Regions from separate parts of the Homo sapiens genome. Here region 1 is linked to region 2. The links are contacts of gene promoters, found by promoter capture Hi-C in blood cells and fetal thymus (Javierre and others, 2016). All regions are on one chromosome and are shown on one strand. The core of a region is centred on a gene start or on the middle of the fragment in contact, and the rest is flanking DNA. Distances in the headings are between cores, read along the strand shown.

What was found. Contacts are between HindIII fragments. The CHiCAGO score rates a contact against its expected background, and 5 or more counts as called.
Region 1: the fragment with the promoter of H4C9 here is called in contact with the fragment with the promoter of HFE in region 2 in 2 of 17 cell types (naive B cells and total B cells); the score reaches 5.5 in naive B cells.

Annotation. Positions count from the first base shown.
Region 1 is chr6:27,136,931-27,142,349 of GRCh38, forward strand. H4C9 (H4 clustered histone 9) reads left to right here and starts at 2,352. Exons shown (of 1, transcript NM_003495.3): 1 at 2,352-2,748. The coding sequence starts at 2,379. The coding sequence ends at 2,690. It also overlaps a transcript of H2BC12 not described here. RefSeq lists enhancers at 2,166-2,545, 2,308-2,900, 2,901-3,492. The HindIII fragment of the contact is 1,035 bases long and covers 1,709-2,743 here.
Region 2 is chr6:26,084,324-26,089,522 of GRCh38, forward strand. It overlaps HFE (homeostatic iron regulator), which reads left to right and starts at 3,106. Exons shown (of 6, transcript NM_000410.4): 1 at 3,106-3,193. The coding sequence starts at 3,118. It also overlaps HFE-AS1. The HindIII fragment of the contact is 3,203 bases long and covers 2,721-5,199 here.

The sequences.
Region 1 (5,419 bases), core at 1,102-3,601, 1.1 Mb after region 2:
TCTCTTGGTTTCAACTTCCTGTCCTTGATGAAAATGTTCTTTTCCTTTTGGTACAGGGAGGACATCTTCCACAGGGGAATTTTAATTCCTGCTTTTAAGGGGGTAAAAGGGAACGGTCAAAGTGCCTTTCTTGTACCTACTCTTTTTAAAATTGCCTGTATCTCAGAATAATTCTTATTCCAAAATGGCATATTTTGGGATGGCATGCTCTGCCACCTTTTACCATTCATTGCTATCCTTGTCACTAATTGCTATGCGAAAACTCATGAAATCAGATACAGAAAAAGGCTTCTGATTAGTGAGAAGCTCAAGTAGAGAAATATACTTGTTAACTAATGTTGGGGAAATACAATTTTAAAATCTTCTCCCAAAGAAGACAAAGGAAATAATTTTATTATTGAATAAGCATTAAACCAGGGAGAGTTGCTTATCACAGGAAACCTTATGAAGAGGTTGCAAAAGCAGAAAGAAATCTTGCTTATTATGTATGGCTACATTGGATAGGTTTTGCAATTCGAAGTCAGGTGACAGCTAAAGTTCAGCCCATTTTCTCGCTGGAAACTGGGAGACAGACCACTATCTTTTTTAATGATTAACATTTCAAAGGGATGGCTCTCCAGGCATTGAGAAAATATTCTGAGTTATAAGGCCTATTTAGCCATTAAAAGGATTTACATACATTTTAAAAGGACAGAGAAAGACATTTTGAAAGTGATGGGAAAGGAAAGGGAAGTCTTTTGTTTTCAACAGATAATTAAGCCTCTCATTTTTAATTTGTATTTACCCTTAGATTAACGTATTCAATTAACCTATGCTACCTTACCCTCTTTACAACATATACTGAATTCAGCTACAGCAAGTTACAGCCAGTCATATCAATTTTTTTTTGTTTTCCAAAGGTGTATGGCAAGTTTTCTTTTATTGCAACATAAATGCAAAAATTTCTAAAGTATTTTAATGAAAAGTTTATCTTCATTTACTTTATGACATTTAAGTGGAATACTTTGAAAATACTTCAAGCACTGCTGTAAGGTACTCATTAAAATAAAGAGTAGCAAGAAAATCACCAAATGGGCCGGGTGCGGTGGCTCATATATTCAGTATATGATAATAAGTTCCTCAAATCAGTGGGGGAAATAGTTAATGTATTGTGCTGACTAACCAACTGATTAACTTTTTGAAAAGTTATTTCTATATACAAGAAATCAAGTCCTTATTAGTAAAGTTAGATTACTTTAAATGGTTCTACCCAGCATTAGTTAAGGTTGTAGGCATATCAGGAACTGCTACTGGTGCAGGGGCCAAGAGAAAACCTCCCTTTTGGCCTCTGAAAGTTCACTGAAAATCAACTGACAAGATTAATAAGAGAAAAGGCATACAAATTTATTAAGGTACAGGGCTGAGGACCACAGAATATTACCCCAACCCCCCAGTGGGGTACAGAAGCTTATATACTCTTTCTCAGAGGCAAAAGAGGAGATGGGTAATGTAGACAATTCTTTGAGGAACAGTAAATGATTATTAGAGAGAAGGAATGGACCAAGGAGACAGAAATTAACTTGTAAATGATTCTCTTTGGAATCTGAATGAGATCAAGAGGCCAGCTTTAGCTTGTGGAAAAGTCCATCTAGGTATGGTTGCATTCTCGTCTTCTTTTCTGCAGTAGATAATGAGGTAACCGAAGGCAATTGTGCTTCTTTTGATAAGAAGCTTTCTTGGTCATATCAGGAAATTCCAGAGAAAGTCCCTCCCTGTATTTGGGGAAGAGAAACAGGACAAAGTTAGAGGGACCTTGATTCTTAGACTTGTTTCTGAGAACCCTCAATTTTCAAAAACACCCACCATTACCAAGCTCGATATTTGGGGGGATAATTCTCCACCCCAAACACTAGAAATGAAAATAAGTAGAAAAGAACTTAGCAATATACCTGAACGATCTTTAAATTCTATGAGTCTATCTTGTTCTATTGCTAGGAATTTAGCATATGGAGTATATTTCCATTGTATATTAAGGAGAAAAATGCCACAAAATAGCATAGTTCCATACAAATAATGTTAAAGGAAAACATGCATATATGCAGAGATAACATTCTTTTTGCTTTATGTATCTTCTATAATGTTAACATTTTTGTTATGAGGCAGGAATCATGTTAAATGAAAAAAGGAAAAACAGCCTAGGTCTTGAGGATTAAAAAGGACTGAAGGAGAACAAGAGGGAGTAGAGCACAGCAGGCCTGTTTCCCTTTTAGGTCCCCTCCCCCAATGCAGAGGGACTTCCCGCCAAAGCTCTTCCGGTTTTCAGTCTGGTCCGCAGAGGTTACCCATAAAAGAAAGCTGCCATCACAGGCAGCAGACCTTTGTTCTCTGACCACTTGATAATGTCAGGACGCGGCAAAGGAGGTAAGGGCCTGGGGAAAGGGGGTGCCAAGCGCCACCGCAAGGTGCTGCGCGACAACATCCAGGGTATCACCAAGCCAGCCATTCGGCGCCTTGCTCGCCGCGGCGGCGTGAAGCGCATTTCTGGCCTCATCTATGAGGAGACCCGCGGAGTGTTGAAGGTGTTCCTGGAGAACGTGATCCGGGACGCCGTGACCTACACGGAGCACGCCAAGCGCAAGACGGTCACCGCCATGGACGTGGTCTACGCGCTCAAGCGCCAGGGCCGCACCCTCTATGGCTTCGGCGGCTAAATGGCATTTTGAAGCCCAGTCATTCTCTAAAAAGGCCCTTTTTAGGGCCCCTAAGCTTTCAACAAAAGAGTTGAAATGACTGCAAACTGAGTCTCTTAATAGGGCCATTGTCAGTGAGTTCTGTCATCCTATTTTACAAGATTAACTCGACGCCGAAAATGGGCTGATGACTACAGGTGACCTTGGGCCGAGATTTTTCCAAGGCCAGAAGAGCCTCTGCTGGCCAGTAACTTCTGGCGGCTGCCTGGAAATTGCCTGCAGCCGGTTTACCGCTCGGATTAGTTTAGAAAGCCAAGGGGTCTGCGGTCCAAATAGGGGCGGGCTAGATAATTAACTTCCCTCTGGACCTTCAAATACGTCTCAGGAGATAATGAGTTTGATGGGCTCCACTAAATGCTAGAACCTCCAGGAAAACTTCGTGGTGGCTGGTTTAAGAGGACTTGGCGGGCACAGAGCTCTGCATGGGGGGGAGGGGGACAGACCATGCTTTTACTACTGTAGAACAGTAGGGCAGTCTTAAGAGTCTTAGTAATAATATTCCTTTATATGTTTGCCTTTTAAATACTGGAATATATCAAGTATACAAAATGCGCTGGTGACCACACCACTTATTCAAGTGCATCTAAAATCCTTATGTCCCTTTCTCAGTAGCACAGCCCTCCCTTTTTCCTATCTAGAATTAACTAATATTCTAGGATAAACTGATATTCTAAATTTGTTTACTGTTCCCACGCGTTTTAACTTTAGATGCACATACCCCTAATCTATTTTAATCGTCATGAATTTTTACATTTGCTCTTGAAATATATCCGTGTTGAAATGTGCAGTTCTAGGTTATTTTTACCATTAATCTAGTTTTCTAATGTGTCAGTAAATACTTTATTCATTTCTCTGTTGATTTTTTTTCCTCATTACAAAACAGCACTGTATACAGCTGTGCATTTTCTGGTTACATGGAAGTGGAATTATTTGGTAAATGTGCATATTCAACATGAATAAAAATGAACAATTTGCTTTCCAGGGTAGTATTTTAAATTTATACTCCCATATTCCACCAGCAGTGCTTGAGAGTTATTGTTTATCAGCATTTCCTAATGTGAAATCGGAGTTTTTCTAAATGAGATTTTTGGCTATTTGGAGATTTTCCCGCTTTCCTCGGAATGGTCTATTCAGATTCTCTACAGTTTTTATTTTATGAGATTTGATTTGTAAATATTCTTTATATATTTGAGTTTTAACTTTTTGTCAGTATGTGACAAATATATTCTGTCACCTTGTGGGTTTGTTTTTAACTGTTCGTGATATCTTTGGATGTGCAAAATTTTAATAATGTTGGATTTATATTTTTTATAGTTTTTGAATGCTGCCTTTTCATAAAGGAGTTATCTGACTTCCACTTTCCCCAGGAGCTACAGGCATCAATCTGGGGGAAAAAAAAAAAACAAAAAACATTTAGGCGGCTTATGTCCTGATTTGGCTTGAATTGGATAGTAAGGCTTTTCTGAAATCGCTGTAAGAGTAGCATCAAGAGCGAGCTAAGGGAAGACCTGATAAAAGATTGATCTTACTTTCTAAATAAGCAATGATTAACAATACCTAAAATTTTCAAAGTATTACAAAAGGGACAAAAGAAAGGGTGAAAGAGGAAAGTAATGCCTAAGATACACTGAAAGTTTGTTGAAAATTGTTAAGTGCTTTACATGGATTATCTCGTATCTCATATTCTTGTGAGATAGATTTTATTACTCTTATTTTAAAATGGCAAAAGAGGCCAAATCAAATAACCAATTCACAAATGTTAGATTTTATGACCCAAACTTGTCTTTCTTTAATTTTTATTATTCCAGGAGCATAGATTCAAATTGCCCCGAACATACACTCACTCAAACCTGTAATATTCTTAATCACACTCTCTTAGTAGATAGATAAGCCATCACAGAGAGTAGTAGTGGTGCTAGTCCTATAATGAAGAATTTGGGGAAATGTGTCAGGACAGATGCAAAACCTGCTTGTCACTTAATCCCAATTGGAATGAATTATTTTCATGTGTCAGTTTGTGGGCCTGAGAAAGTCGTTTTTATTTTGTGTCTATATAGTTATGTTATTGTTAAATCTGCAGCAATGTAACACGTCCTTCCCTGTCATTTTTCATGTTCCAAGCCCAATGGATTAAACACTCCCTTAGGAAAAACCGTAGTAGGTGGTGATGCCAGAAGGAATTGTAATCCTTTGCATAGTGCCCTAGTGGGTTTTAGGTCAAGTTCTGCTCATTGAGTGTCTTATGGTATAGCACTAGCCATGCATGGAGTTTGAGCACTTACAATGTGGCATGTGACTGAGGGAGTAAGTGTTTAATTATATCTTAATTAGTTTACTTTTAAAAACTGGTGCTGGATTCAATTAGATAGCATTCAAGTATACTTGGAACACCTTAGGGACATGAATCAGAATCATCTTATTCTAATTACAGATCAAGAATTCCCCACGAAAATTTATTTTGATATACCATAAAAGTGTAAAATACACACCAGATTTTGAAGATTTGAAATGAAAAAAGAATACAAGATATTTAATACATTCTGTATTGACTATATGCTGAAACTATATTTTTGATATATTCTGTCAAATAGGATACACTATTAAAATTAACTTTTTTAACTTTTTTTTTGGAGACGAACTCTCGCTTTCGTCCCCCAGGCTGGAGTACAATGGTGTGATCTCGGCTCACT
Region 2 (5,199 bases), core at 1,856-4,355:
GAGTTCCAGACCAGCCTGACCAACATGGTGAAACCCCGTCTCTACTAAAAATACAAAAATTAACCAGGCATGGTGGCAGGTACCTGTAATCCCAGCTGCTTGGGAGGCTGAGGCAGGAGAATTGCTTGAACCTGGGAGGAGGAGCCAGTGGCCGGGATTGGGCCACTGCACTCCAACCTGGGCAATAGAGTGAGGCTCTGTCAAAAAAAAAAAAAGATAGGATTATAGATTATAGCATAATGGGATAAAATTGAGACTCCAGAAATAAACTCTCACATTTATGGTAGATTGATTTTTGATAAGGGTGCCAAAACACTTCAATGAAAAAAGAGTCTTCTCAACAAGTGATGGTGGAACAACTGAATAACCACATTTTTGTTCTATCTGGGGCCCTGATTCAAAAACCCAGGCAAAGATGGAGAGAAATCAGAACTCTCATACACTGCTGATAGGAGGATAAAATGCTTACTTTGGAAAAGAATGTGGCAATTCCTCAAAAGGTTAAACAGTGTTACCATATGACCCAGCAAACCCACTTCTAGATATATAACCAAAAGAAATCAAAACATAAGTCTACAAAAAAACTTGTACATAAATGTTTATAACAGCACTATTCCCAATAGCCATAAAGTAGAAACAAACCAATGTCCATCGGCTGATGAATGAATAAATAAAATATGTTGTGGTATGTCCTTATAATAGATATTATTGGTCCATGAAAAACATACATAAAAACATTATGCTAAATGAAAGAAGCCAGTCACGGCAAAGCAATATATTATATGCCTCTATGTATACTAAATGTTCCAAATAGAAAGAAAGTAGATTAAAGATTGTCTAGGGCTGGGAGGGGAGGAGGAGGAGAATGGAGGAATCTGGGAGGCGATGAATTAAGGGTACTGAATTAGGGGAACATGGTTTCTTTTTGGGGAGATAGAAATGTAAAATTTTGGTAATGGTTGCACATCTCTGTAAATATACTAAAATCCATTAATTTTTGCATTTTATTTTATTTATTTTATTTTTGAGACGGAGTTTCGCTCTTGTTGCCCAGGCTGGAGTGCAATGGCATGATCTCGGCTCACCACAACCTCCGCCTCCCAGGTTCAAGCGATTCTCCTGTCTCAGCTTCCCGAGTAGCTGGAATTACAGGTGCATGCCACCACACCCAGCTAATTTTTTTTTTTTGAGATGAAGTCTTGCTCTTGTCTCCCATGCTGGAGTGTGATGGCACGATCTTAGCTCACTGCAACCTACGCCTCCCGGGTTCAAGCGATTCTCCTGCCTCAGCCTCTAATGTAGCTGGGATTACAGTTGCCTGCTATCACGCCCGGCTAATTTTTGTATTTTTAGTAAAGACGGGGTTTCACCATGTTGGCCAGGCTGGTCTCGAACCCCTGATCTCAGGTGATCTGCCTTCCTCGGCCGCCCAAAGTGCTGGGATTACAAGCGTGAGCCACTGAGCCGGGCCAATTTTTGCATTTTACATAGATGAATTATATGGTATGCTAATTATATCTTACCAAAAATTGAAAAAAAGGAATAGTACTATCAGCCCCAATGTGCCCATCATCAATATTCTACATGTTTCCAATGTTATTGTATCTGTTTGCCTACAGTCGAGGCCCTGATATCCTGTTTGATTTTCTTGAATTGCCAAAATTTGCATACATGCTTACAAAAATAATGCCTGTTGAATTTGCTAGATATGTAAAGGTTTGGAGCAAATCAGGTGTATTAAATTTATTAATATTGTTTGAAATGTCTAAGGCAATAATTCCCAAACTTCGTTGAGGGAGAAGGAAAGCTTTTAAAATCCCATTGCCCAGGTGGCATCCCATACTGTTACTGGGAATTATGCATTGGGATGGATCCTTTAACCGAGGAGATTATTATAGCCGGAGCTCTGAACCAGCAATCTCAGTTCTTGTGATAGTGAGCAAAGAACTACAAACTAACACCAAAATGCAAGCTTAAAGCAAAGTTTATTGAAGCACAATAATACACTCTGAGGGACAGCGGGCTTATTTCTGCGAAGTGAACTCAGCACTTCTTTACAGAGCTCAAGGTGCTTTTATGGGGTTTGTGGGGAGGAGTTGAGGTTTGGGCTGTATCTGAGTGACAGGATGATGTTATTTGATTGAAGTGTATAGCTATACAATCTAAAATTAAACTGTGCATGGTCTTACCTATAATTTGTTAAGAAAAGCCTCCCAGGGATGGGGGGGCAAAACTGTATGTAAATTCTATTATAATGATGGCATGATGAACTTGGGGTGAACTTGAAGACAGGCTTTTGTGTTGTTGGGCATGTGCCACCTTAGGGAATTTCCACCTGTACCCTCCTTTCTCTTTCTCCAGGATATTTTGGCCACAGACTTTATCATAAACTCCATCCCTTAGGGTGGCATTAGGGTAGTCTTGGGCCTGAATTTAGGTGGGCCAGTGGCTGTCTTAGTGACAGCCTTTCCGCTCTCTTCTGTCATCCCCTCCCAACTGCTAATGTCTAACTACCTAACAATTACCCATTAAATCAGTGTGTCTGGGGTTAGGAGCAGGCCTCAATATGTTTAATCATTCTCCAGATAATCCCAATACTGTAAAGTTTGTGAAACACTTGTCAGATAATTCAATTATGAAGGCTGTGGAAGGTGTTTCAGTAGGATCTAATTGGTTAATGTTATGACTTAATTAATTTGAATCAAAAAACAAAATGAAAAAGCTTTATATTTCTAAGTCAAATAAGACATAAGTTGGTCTAAGGTTGAGATAAAATTTTTAAATGTATGATTGAATTTTGAAAATCATAAATATTTAAATATCTAAAGTTCAGATCAGAACATTGCGAAGCTACTTTCCCCAATCAACAACACCCCTTCAGGATTTAAAAACCAAGGGGGACACTGGATCACCTAGTGTTTCACAAGCAGGTACCTTCTGCTGTAGGAGAGAGAGAACTAAAGTTCTGAAAGACCTGTTGCTTTTCACCAGGAAGTTTTACTGGGCATCTCCTGAGCCTAGGCAATAGCTGTAGGGTGACTTCTGGAGCCATCCCCGTTTCCCCGCCCCCCAAAAGAAGCGGAGATTTAACGGGGACGTGCGGCCAGAGCTGGGGAAATGGGCCCGCGAGCCAGGCCGGCGCTTCTCCTCCTGATGCTTTTGCAGACCGCGGTCCTGCAGGGGCGCTTGCTGCGTGAGTCCGAGGGCTGCGGGCGAACTAGGGGCGCGGCGGGGGTGGAAAAATCGAAACTAGCTTTTTCTTTGCGCTTGGGAGTTTGCTAACTTTGGAGGACCTGCTCAACCCTATCCGCAAGCCCCTCTCCCTACTTTCTGCGTCCAGACCCCGTGAGGGAGTGCCTACCACTGAACTGCAGATAGGGGTCCCTCGCCCCAGGACCTGCCCCCTCCCCCGGCTGTCCCGGCTCTGCGGAGTGACTTTTGGAACCGCCCACTCCCTTCCCCCAACTAGAATGCTTTTAAATAAATCTCGTAGTTCCTCACTTGAGCTGAGCTAAGCCTGGGGCTCCTTGAACCTGGAACTCGGGTTTATTTCCAATGTCAGCTGTGCAGTTTTTTCCCCAGTCATCTCCAAACAGGAAGTTCTTCCCTGAGTGCTTGCCGAGAAGGCTGAGCAAACCCACAGCAGGATCCGCACGGGGTTTCCACCTCAGAACGAATGCGTTGGGCGGTGGGGGCGCGAAAGAGTGGCGTTGGGGATCTGAATTCTTCACCATTCCACCCACTTTTGGTGAGACCTGGGGTGGAGGTCTCTAGGGTGGGAGGCTCCTGAGAGAGGCCTACCTCGGGCCTTTCCCCACTCTTGGCAATTGTTCTTTTGCCTGGAAAATTAAGTATATGTTAGTTTTGAACGTTTGAACTGAACAATTCTCTTTTCGGCTAGGCTTTATTGATTTGCAATGTGCTGTGTAATTAAGAGGCCTCTCTACAAAGTACTGATAATGAACATGTAAGCAATGCACTCACTTCTAAGTTACATTCATATCTGATCTTATTTGATTTTCACTAGGCATAGGGAGGTAGGAGCTAATAATACGTTTATTTTACTAGAAGTTAACTGGAATTCAGATTATATAACTCTTTTCAGGTTACAAAGAACATAAATAATCTGGTTTTCTGATGTTATTTCAAGTACTACAGCTGCTTCTAATCTTAGTTGACAGTGATTTTGCCCTGTAGTGTAGCACAGTGTTCTGTGGGTCACACGCCGGCCTCAGCACAGCACTTTGAGTTTTGGTACTACGTGTATCCACATTTTACACATGACAAGAATGAGGCATGGCACGGCCTGCTTCCTGGCAAATTTATTCAATGGTACACTGGGCTTTGGTGGCAGAGCTCATGTCTCCACTTCATAGCTATGATTCTTAAACATCACACTGCATTAGAGGTTGAATAATAAAATTTCATGTTGAGCAGAAATATTCATTGTTTACAAGTGTAAATGAGTCCCAGCCATGTGTTGCACTGTTCAAGCCCCAAGGGAGAGAGCAGGGAAACAAGTCTTTACCCTTTGATATTTTGCATTCTAGTGGGAGAGATGACAATAAGCAAATGAGCAGAAAGATATACAACATCAGGAAATCATGGGTGTTGTGAGAAGCAGAGAAGTCAGGGCAAGTCACTCTGGGGCTGACACTTGAGCAGAGACATGAAGGAAATAAGAATGATATTGACTGGGAGCAGTATTTCCCAGGCAAACTGAGTGGGCCTGGCAAGTTGGATTAAAAAGCGGGTTTTCTCAGCACTACTCATGTGTGTGTGTGTGGGGGGGGGGGGCGGCGTGGGGGTGGGAAGGGGGACTACCATCTGCATGTAGGATGTCTAGCAGTATCCTGTCCTCCCTACTCACTAGGTGCTAGGAGCACTCCCCCAGTCTTGACAACCAAAAATGTCTCTAAACTTTGCCACATGTCACCTAGTAGACAAACTCCTGGTTAAGAAGCTCGGGTTGAAAAAAATAAACAAGTAGTGCTGGGGAGTAGAGGCCAAGAAGTAGGTAATGGGCTCAGAAGAGGAGCCACAAACAAGGTTGTGCAGGCGCCTGTAGGCTGTGGTGTGAATTCTAGCCAAGGAGTAACAGTGATCTGTCACAGGCTTTTAAAAGATTGCTCTGGCTGCTATGTGGAAAGCAGAATGAAGGGAGCAACAGTAAAAGCAGGGAGCCCAGCCAGGAAGCTG